Linked DNA regions of Homo sapiens: region 1 is linked to region 2. Evidence: promoter capture Hi-C in 16 types of primary human blood cells and fetal thymus (Javierre and others, 2016). All regions are on one chromosome and are shown on one strand. Each heading gives the region's core, a stretch centred on a gene start or on the middle of the fragment in contact. The rest is flanking DNA. Distances are from core to core; before and after follow the strand shown. Region 1 overlaps MYT1L (myelin transcription factor 1 like). Region 2 holds the start of RPS7 (ribosomal protein S7).

Region 1 (5,118 bases), core at 1,480-3,979, 1.5 Mb after region 2:
GGGTAGGAGAGTTGGCTCTGAAAGGGAAGGAATATGGGTGTGGCTCTGAAAGGAAAGAGGCTGGGCTTGGTTATGAAAAAAGATGGTGGGGGTGGCTATGTGCAGGGCAGAAGTGGGCGTGGCTATTAATTGGAAGGGGGATGGACGTGGCAATGAAAGACAATGGGGTGGTCATGGTTATGAAAGGAAAAGGATGGGCGTGGCTCTGAACAGGAAAAGGGTGAGTGTGGCTATGAAAGGGAAAGGAGTGAACTTGGTGATGAACAGGAAGAGGCTGGGCGTGGCTGTGAAAGGGCAGGGAGTGGGCGTGGTGATGAACAGGAAAAGGCTGGGCGTGGCTATGAAAGGGAAGAGGGTGGACTTGGTGATGAAAGGGCAGGATGTGGGCGGGGCTATAAAAGGACACAGAGGAACTCTTGCTCCTTCGGTGATAGTTATCTGCATGTTGACTGTGGTCATAGACACAGAAACCTACACTGGTGCTAAAATCGCATGCACATATATGAACACAAGAGAAGTAGGAAATCTGGACATCGGTGGGAGGAATCAATGTCGTTCTGCCTGTATGTGCTATGGTTCTGCAAAATGTTGTCATTGGCGGACACTGAGACGGGTGCATGGGATCTCTGTATTCTTTCTTCCAGCTGCATGTGAATCTACAGTTACCTCAAAACAGTTTAAAACCAAAATCTGTGTGATATAATCCCAGATAATGACAAATGCCGTAAAGAAAAACCCACTCATTCTCATTTGGGAGATTAGAGGAAGGGTGGATGAGGAGAAAGGCCAGCAAAACTTTGGCTGAGAACAGAGTGTGACTGAGAGCCCCAAGGAGCTTCCGCCTGGCTGCTGTTATTTTTGTTTTGCAGCTAAGCTGCCTGCTAAACATGCCGTTTAAGAGTTCATCCTGGGAATTCCATTACCAGTGATCACAAGCAGCATCTGTGACAGGGAACTGTGAGCAGCCAGAACCGTGGGTGCATATTCCTTCCTACCGCACCTGAAGAACTGGGAAAAGGAGGTCACTGACTCACTCACTCCTTACCTAATTGTTCTGTGAATCTTTACCTAGTGAGGACCTATTGTTAAAAGCACACTGTAGTTGGATGGATGGATGGATGGACGGATGGATGTGCACACACATTTAGTAAGCAGCAGCATCATATACCCTGCAAGGGCATTTAGCCTATAGTTCATTTGTCAGTGGCTTTTAAATCTACATCTCATAAATTACTCCCAGACGGGAATGCATCTTGGAACAAAGGTAGTCTCACCTCCAGCAATTACTCTAACTCCCCTTCCTCCAAGAGGGGTTCTCATGTTTGTGAGGGTGTGTCCTCACGCCTGGAGAGCCTGAGGGACCCAGGAAAGGAGCCAGGAGCACCCAAACTGGAGTATTTGGACAAGCAGCCCTGATGAGAGGCTGAAGGTGCTTTGCTGTTTCACCTGGGAATGGGAAGGGCACTCCTGACTCCATGATTTGTGAATGTGCGCCTGGAGAACAGAGCACGCTCCAAATAAAACCTTTCATTTTGTCCACAAAATTCTGTTTTGTAGATACTTATCACTTTAATGAAAAACCTGTCCCTCTCCTGACAATGATCAGTCATATCTGCCGTTGAGGCACTGGGACTGCGGCTGCTCCCACAGGAATGGCCTGATGGTCTCCAGGTCTTCCTCCTTGTTACCTTTTGTGAACACTGAAGAATAGAAAAAACACTTTTCCCAAAACAACGATGGACAACACGATGAATCTATAGAACATGCTAACAAGCTTAAAGTGATAGAGATGAATTTTTAGGATTACCAGTAGAGTAAGTCATTGTGTAAATTAACGTAATAATATTTTATGAAAGCAAAATATTATGATTGTTTTAAGCATAGTACTGGCAATATATTAGAGTGGCTTTGATTATTAATGTCCAATCCTACTATTTCTCAATCACTTGTTTTGCTTTATGTTGGTTTGTTTATAAGATTTATTTAAATTTGTCTATTTTTTGTCTTTCAAATGGTGAGAATTAACTTGCATTTTTATAAAACCACTATGTCGAATACCATTCCAACCTTTCTTAGTCAATTTAGTAAGTAATAGCTCAGAATGTGTTGGAAATAACTGTGCCTACTATATAAACATTAATCACAGAAGTTTATGCATAAGCCCCATTTTAAACACTATTTGGATGTTGCTTTATAGCTATAACAAATAAAAAATTTTAAATTATTACCCAAGATGTTGCATTTTGTTTTGCTTTTTAATTAATAACATGCTCTTGTAAAATCTTTTATGTGGAAATCACAACTTATTTGCTATCCTTTGAACTGAGAAGGACAAAAATACAAACACACATGACAACCCGCTGATGATATAAGCTATGAAATACATGTGCAGATACATCCCGTATGCTTCTGTAATTTGTTTCTACACATTTTGTAGTCTTAATACTTTGTAGACTCAATCATAAAAATGACTCTTTCCCTTAGTTTTATAAGAATATAGTTTTGTGTATTTTTTATATTACAAAGAGTAATTTCATTAATTTTCTTAAAAGGTTTTTCTATAAGGAATGATTTATTGGAAATTAATTGGGTGTGATACGAGGTTGTTGTCACCACCATCCCTCTCATCTTATCTCCATGCATCTCATCATCTCTTGTGTCTCATCTCCATGCATCTCATTTCCATGTATCTCATCTCCATGTGTTCATAATCTCCATGCATCTCACCATCTCCATGTGTCTCATCTTCATGCTTCTCACCTCCATGCACCTCATCTCCATACCTCTCATCATCTCTGTGTGTTCCATCTCCATGTGTCTCATCATCTCTTGTGTCTCATCTTCATGCATCTCATTTCCATGTATCTCATCTCCATGTGCTCATGATGTGTCTTGTCATCTCCATACATCTCATCATATCCATGTGTCTCATCATCTTTATGCTTCTCACCTCCATGCACCTCATCTCCGTATCTCTCATCATCTCTGTGTGTTCCATCTCCATGTGTCTTATCATCTCTTGTGTCTCATCTCCATGTGTCTCATCTCCGTGTGTTTCATCTGCATCTGTCTCATCTCCACGTGTCTTATCATCCCCATGGATCTCATCTCTGTGTCTCATTATCTCCATGTGTCTCCATATGTCTCATCATCCCCATGCGTCTCTATGATCTCACCTCTGAGTGTTTCATCTCCATGTGCTTCATCATCCCCATGTGTCTTATGGTCTCTGTGTATTTCATCTCCATGTGTCTCATCTCCTAGTGTTTCATGTCCATGCATCTCATCATCTCCATGTGTCTCATCTCCATTTGTGTCATCATCCCCATGCATCTCATCTCTGTATGTCTCATCATCTCCATGTGTCTGTGCACCCAGCGTGGCCTCATTGCCTACTTGCAGCAGATGCATTAAAGACCTGACAATCACGTCCCTCAAGTAGAGTTTTGCTTTTACTGTGAATATCAGCCTCATTATTCTGCCTTTTTGTTCTTCTCTAGAGTGGCCACATCTGGTGGAAGAAGAAAAAAATGTAGTTATTGAATTCAATCAAGTGTTTGCATCTTTCAAGCTATCAACAAAATTCCATCAAGAAAGGTTCCAGTTGGTCTCACAGACGTATGGATATCCGAGGAGCCACCTAAAGGTGAGGAACTCTATGTGGTATTAATATTTTAAGCTTTACATGCAGACAGGTGTTTTGCATATTTACCTTAAAATATGTTACTTTGAAAAGGCATAAATATAGGTTTGTGAATGAAGCAGCATTTTATTTGATAAAGAATACAACACCTCTTGCTTTTAATAAACAATTCAATATAAAGTCAGAATGTGTAATCTCTTGGTAAACATAGACTCAAGTAGCCTTCTGTTATCTAGTTATAACATCACCCAAAAGAAGAATTGATAAGCATACTAATAGGCCTGGTTCACCTTTCAGCAGTCATAGAGAAGCTCCCTTGTACAAAGCCCCTTTAAAATCAGATCCCTGTGTCCATTATTAGTTCTATTTTGGGATATTTTATATTTGAGGAAATTAAGAAGGTCATTAATTAGGGCCTGTTTTGCATTGCCTAGGGTTCCTGTAGGTTTCTGTCAGTTACTGTTGACAAACGTCCCTTGCTGCCACTGTGGGCTCTGGGAGTCATGCTTCTTGAAAAACTTCAGGTTATGGCCTTTTGTTTTCAAAATAATTGTAAAATACATATAACATGAAATTTACCATTTTTACAGTTTTCAAATGTGCAATTAGTGATATCAAGTGTATTCACATAGTGGTGCAATGGTCACCACCTGCCGTCTTCAGAACTTTTTCGTTCCCTAACTGAAACCCTGTCCCCGTTAAACACTACCTCCCCAGGCCTCCCCCACACTCTCTGGGTCCCAGCATTCTGCTTTCTCTCTCTGTGAATATGACCACTAGTCTTACCTCATGTGAGTGGCATTGTACGGTATCTGTTCTTTTGTGACTGCTCTCTTTCACTTAGCATAATGCCCTCAACATCCAGCCATGTCGTAGAATGGGTCAGAGCATCCTTCCTTTCTAAGGCTGAATAATAGTCCACTGTACATCTGTCAGTGGACACGTGTGCTGCCTCCACCTTTCAGCTACTGTGAATTATGCTCCTATTAGCTTGAGTGTAGAAATATATATCTGAGTCCCTGATTTCACATTTCCTGAGCATCAACCCAGAAGTGGAATTGCTGGATCATGTAGATCATATTTTATTTTTAATTTGTTCAGGAAATGCCACTCTTTTCAATAGTGGCTGCACCATAAAGTGGTGCATTATCGCCACAGTTCACAAGGATTCCAATTTCTCCATATCCAGGCCAACACTTAACTCTTTCCTGTGGTTTTCTTTTTTAAAAATAATAGATATCCTGATGGATGTGAAGTGGCATCCTATTGTGGTTTTGATTTGCATTTCCCTCATTATTAGTGGTGTTAAGCATCTTTCCATGTGTTTATGGGACATTTGCATGTCTTCTTTGGAGAAATGTCTAAGTCCTTTGCCTTAATCAGTTATTTGTTTTTGAGTTGTAGGAATTCTTATATATTATAGATATTAGCTCCTTATCATATATATGATTTGCAAATATCTTCTGCTGTTTCAT
Region 2 (5,082 bases), core at 135-2,634:
GTAGAACAGATACCTGAGCGATAAAGACGACATGCTTCCCACTGAACTTTTTCTCCAATTCGCGTACTAGCCGGACTTGGATTTTCTGGAAAGATTTCAGTTGAGGAACGGGAACAAAGATTATGATAGCTTTCCGACCACCACCAACTTCAATTTCCTAAAGAAAAAAACAAAAATCCACTGTGTTAACTGCTTCAGAAAGTAAACGTTGTGGTCAAATTAGAGGATAAGAAGACCTTATCACTAACACCGTAGCTGCACTACAAACTAATACTAGTTTTGAGTTAATCATAAATGCATCCTTCGGAAATGTTCTCATCTCTCTCCAACCTTCACATTTCCTTATTCCAGGAAGGGAGACTGTTCAGGCCAGGAGGCCAATCACTACCACTTCTGCACCCCCACTTGCGGCAACTCCGGGCTAAGGGTAGAGAGAATCTCATCCTGAGCTCCCCACAGCTCTTTGCCGTATCTATAACTAAGTAAGGGCAAATAAGGTCCGAAATGGGCCCAGGCCCTCCCTACTCCACGTTTCTCCACCGCCCGCATGTGGACAGCTTAAGCCGCAGGGTACCTGCAACCCCACTCCCCGCACCTGGGCGGTATCACTCCCAAACAACACGGCCGAACCTGAGTTCAGGTTAGGCGGCCAGGCGGCAAGTCATCATCAACCGTAACCCAGGTCCAACCCTCTCAGGCACTGCGCGGGGAGACGCGCCGCAACCTCCCTCCCAGCCGAGGGAGCGCCAGCTTACCTTAGCTGCCGTAATATTCAGCTCCCTGAGCTGAGCCTTGAGGTCCGAGTTCATCTCCAGCTCCAGAAGAGCCTAAGAAGCAACGAACAGCAGGACCGACCCTGAGCGCGCGTCCGAGCACCCCGGGCCCAACACACGCGCGGCCGCCTCCCCTCCCGGGCGGGGCGCCTCCCCCCACCCCAGACCCCAGGGAAACCCTCTCACCTGGGAGATGCCGGACTCGAACTCGTCCGGCTTCTCGCCATTGGGCTTCACGATCTTGGCGCTCGAACTGAACATGGCTTTCTCCTGGGAGAACTGAAGGCACAGCGGTCAGCGTTACGCGGCCCGGGCTGCAGGCGCCGCTGGCTCGCCCTCCCGCCCGCACCCCCCGGCCAGGCCCCGCTCGCCCCGCAGAAGCCATCGGAAAGCACAGGGCGGGTAATCGGCTGTATCCCCACCCTGTGAGCAAGGCTCGCCCCTCCAGGGCCTGACTCCAAAAGGCGTTTTCCTCAACCCAAGAAGAAAAGTTCTGTCGGAGAGCAGGCCGCCAACCTACCTTGCCGAGCGCCGGCTTAGGAAGAGACCCAAATCTCGCGAGAGCACGTCAAAATCCGGCGTCCGAAGGCAAGAGGCGGAAACAGCGCGAGGAGGAGGGCGGAAACCGGAACATCACTGAGAAGCGGTAGGAGGCTAGAGAGTCCCAGGAAGCGGCTCTGGGGACGAGTGTCTTGGTAACGCTTTTCCGCCCTAGGATTCGTACTTTGGTGCCGTTTCCGAGCGTTCCGGTACCGGCTCCCAAGGTTCCCGTCTTCAGTGCAGGTTGCAGGCGGGAACCGGCCTCGTCCCAGCCCTGGGCCTGGGAGAGAGAAGGAGGCCGAAGAAAACCAACTTCGGCAACCTCCGGAGACAGGACGTTTAAAAAAGGCTAACTTGGCTGGGCGCTGAGGCTCACGCCTGTAATCCCAGCACTTTGGGAGGCCGAGGCAGGAGGATCACTTGAGCTCAGGAACCAGCCTGGGCAACATGGCGAGACCCCATGTCTACAAAAAAAAAAAAAAAAAAATTAGCCAGTCATGGTGGTGCGCGCCTGCAGTCCCAGCTACCCCGGAGGCCGACGCGGGAGGATCGCTGGAGCCGAAAGGTCGAGGCTGCCGTGAGCCGAGGTTGCACCACTGCACTCCAGCCTGGGCGACAGCGCAAGACCCTGTCTAAAAATAAATTTAAAAAAAATTGCGAGGCCTTCATTCTATGCTAGTACTGTACTAGGTGCTAATTATTAAGTAAAACCGACTGAACTCTTGCCCTCATGGAGCTTACAGTTCAGTGGAGAAGACATTACCTAAAGCAGTATGACTAAATATATAATGACATATTGTAATAACTTACATAACAGTACAATGAGAGGGTGGGGAGGGATTATTTATGCTTTAAGAAGTCGGGAATCCTGGAACGGAATGACATTAGACTGAGACACGGAAGAGCCGCAGGATCTATTGCTGGGGAAGAGCATTCCAGACAGGGAGGAACTCGTGCCGAATGATCCCGCTGTGGACAGGGAATTTAATCTGAGCTTCGGTTTCCTCTTCTGTCAAATGTCATGCAAGAGTTACTTTCAGCCGTGGTCCAGGCACTGTGAAAAATGCAGAAGCCACACTAGGTGCCCTCTCTCAGGATTCCCAACCACCTTTACCAAGCAGAGATGGTATTCATCCCACATTTTTAATGCTAGATATGCTCCCGCCCGGTGCTTCTCTAATAATGTTTTTTAAAAGGTAAGTGACTGTCTCCTTGGAAAATTAAGGATAACTTGAAGTTTCTTCCAGATAGAAAGTAAACTACAGCTGCGTCTACAATCTCATCTGGGCAGTCGTTCTGAGCCCTTTTGTCGAACTAGGTCCATTTCCTTACTCCACATGCACTTTTCGACCTGGCTTTTATCTCTGCTGCTCTATAAAAGTAGTAATCTAAAAGTTCATCCAGTAAAGCTTTTTCTCTGTGAACCTATCACTTGAGAACAAAAAAAATTAAAGTTATTTCTGGTTTCCAGTCCTTTGTTGAATAGGAGTGGTGAGCAAGGACATCCGTGCCTTGTTCTCCATCTTAGGGGAAAACCATTCAGTCTTTCACCATTAAGTATAATATTAGCTCTAGGATTTTGCAGGTATTTTTAATCAAATTCAGGAAGTTCCCTCTGTTTCTATTTCTGAGAGGTTTTTTTAAAATCATGGGCCGGGCACGGTGGCTCACGCCTGTAATCCCAGCACTTTGGGAGGCCGAGGCGGGTGGATCACGAGGTCAGGAGATCGAGACCATCCTGGCTAACACGGTGAAACCCCGTCTCTACTAAAAATACAAAAAATTAGCTGGGCGAGGTGGCGGGCGCCTGTAGTCCCAGCTACTCGGGAGGCTGAGGCAGGAGAATGGCGTGAACCGCCGGGGGCGGAGCCTGCAGTGAGCCGAGATCGAGCCATTGCACTCCAGCCTGGGTGACAGCGAGACTCCATCTCAAAAAAAATATATAAATAAAAAATAAAATAAAATCATGAATGGATGTTGGAGTATGTCAAATGCATTGTTTCTATGAACTAATATGATTATGTGAGTTTTTCTTTTTAGCTGTTAATGTGCTGTTAATATACATAAATGCTTTTCCTTTCTAACTCTTTAGCTTTGAGCCTCATGAGATCCTAAGAAATGTGATTTTTAAAACCTAGAACCTGATAGAAGTTGATAGAGGTTGCACATGTATTTTTAATAGGTAGTTTCAGGATCATAATCACAACTTAGAGGGTCATTCTACTAATTTTATGTTAGGAAATGCCTACTAATCATTACATTAGATTGTTTTCCTGGTTTTACTAGTACTAGCTTCTTTATTATTTAACCATACAATAAGTGAGTCGATAATACCAACATGATTGACAATGAACAGAAATATCATCTATGCAATCCACTTACTTTTAGAACACTTTGTTAACTCTTTTATGTATCATTATGGACATGGGACATTTCAGATTTGCTGTACATCAATCAGTCTCAGCCAATATTCTCCTTTGATCCTCAAATTGTCTCAGTTGTGACCAGGAGGGGCCCCTCTTAGATAAGCAGCCGAGTCTTGTCATTTCTATGAATGTCTGAACATCTTGTTTTCTGGCACAAGATATTCCAGGCTCCTCTTGTAATTTTCTGCCTGAGACATAGAATGAGCCTTTTCTCCTAGAAGTGCTGATACTTTTGTTTTTGTTTTTCTGGAAAAATAGTACTGGAGACCAGAATTTTGGCAGCAGGAGGCATCGTGGGGCTCCTCATAAGCCGTTTCAGCGGACAGAACTTAGAAAGATGGCATTTAAAATAATTTTTTCATAAAAGATACAAGTTCACATTGACATTCTCAATCCACTTCTAACAGAACAATTCCTTCTGAAATCCTCGATTCTATCATAGCATCTCCTTTTCTCCTGTAATAAAAACCTTGCTTCCTAAACACAAAAATACAATTACTTGCTTTATCTGACACTATGAGAAAATACATTCAAAATAACAATGCAGGTGGGCCGCAGTGGCTCACACCTGTAATCCCAGCACTTTGGGATAATCCACCCAGGGTGAGTGGATCACTTGAGGTCAGGAGATAAGCCTGGCCAACACAGGGAAACCCTGTCTCTACTAAAAATACAAAAATTAGCCAGGTGTGGTGCCACCCGCCTGTAATCCCAGCTACTCGGGAAGCTGAGGCAGGAGAATCGCTTGAACCTGGGTGACATGAACTCCTGACCTCATGTGATCTGCCCACCCTGGCATCCCGAAGTGCTGGGATTACAGGTGTGAGCCACCATGCTCAGCCCTTGTTGACTTTTGAATATGTGAAACACTCTGCTTCTGAAAGTCAAAGCCATCTAAGGAGGTCACTCCCTTGAGAAGGCCACACTCCACCGGCCCCTGCCTTCCCTCCTGCACCCAACCTTGCTTTCTGGTTCATGCTTCCTGGGTTTCTTTTTGCTTGAATGTATATTTTCTTACCTCTCCTTCATTCTTACACAAAAGCAGGATTTGATTTTTGCATTTTGTGTTCGCCTAAACATATTTCCTGGAAATCCCTCCATGTCAGTTCAGGAGACCTCCCTCATGCTTTTTCACCACGGCGTCGCTCTCCGCTGGGCTGTCAGACCACTTTCACCCAGCCCGTGTTCTGTGGAGACACTTGGACTGCATCCGAGTCATACTCAACATTTTGAAATTTTAAACAATGCCCCACAAATAAACTTAGGCATATGCGTTAGGATGCTTTTGGAGCAGCCCCTTTGGGATAAATTTCTAGAAGTGGGATCTCAGCCTCAAAAGGTAA

Evidence for each region. Contacts are between HindIII fragments. The CHiCAGO score rates a contact against its expected background, and 5 or more counts as called.
Region 1: a contact is called between a fragment that was not itself captured here and the fragment with the promoter of RPS7 in region 2, in 2 of 17 cell types (naive CD4 T cells and naive CD8 T cells). The highest score is 10.0, in naive CD4 T cells.

Annotation. Positions count from the first base shown.
Region 1 is chr2:2,052,506-2,057,623 of GRCh38, reverse strand. It overlaps MYT1L (myelin transcription factor 1 like), which reads left to right. Exons shown (of 25, transcript NM_001303052.2): 4 at 3,501-3,646. Among named protein-coding and RNA genes, the nearest start is that of MYT1L-AS1, 260 kb to the left of the region's middle. The HindIII fragment of the contact is 1,905 bases long and covers 1,777-3,681 here.
Region 2 is chr2:3,571,562-3,576,643 of GRCh38, reverse strand. It overlaps RPS7 (ribosomal protein S7), which reads right to left and starts at 1,384. Exons shown (of 7, transcript NM_001011.4): 1 at 1,294-1,384; 2 at 960-1,052; 3 at 756-827; 4 at 14-157. The coding sequence starts at 1,034. LOC124907726 (a long non-coding RNA gene) reads left to right here and starts at 1,535. Exons shown (of 2, transcript XR_007086196.1): 1 at 1,535-2,509. RefSeq lists a silencer at 838-1,127 and enhancers at 679-1,255, 1,256-1,831. The HindIII fragment of the contact is 5,628 bases long and covers 1-2,724 here.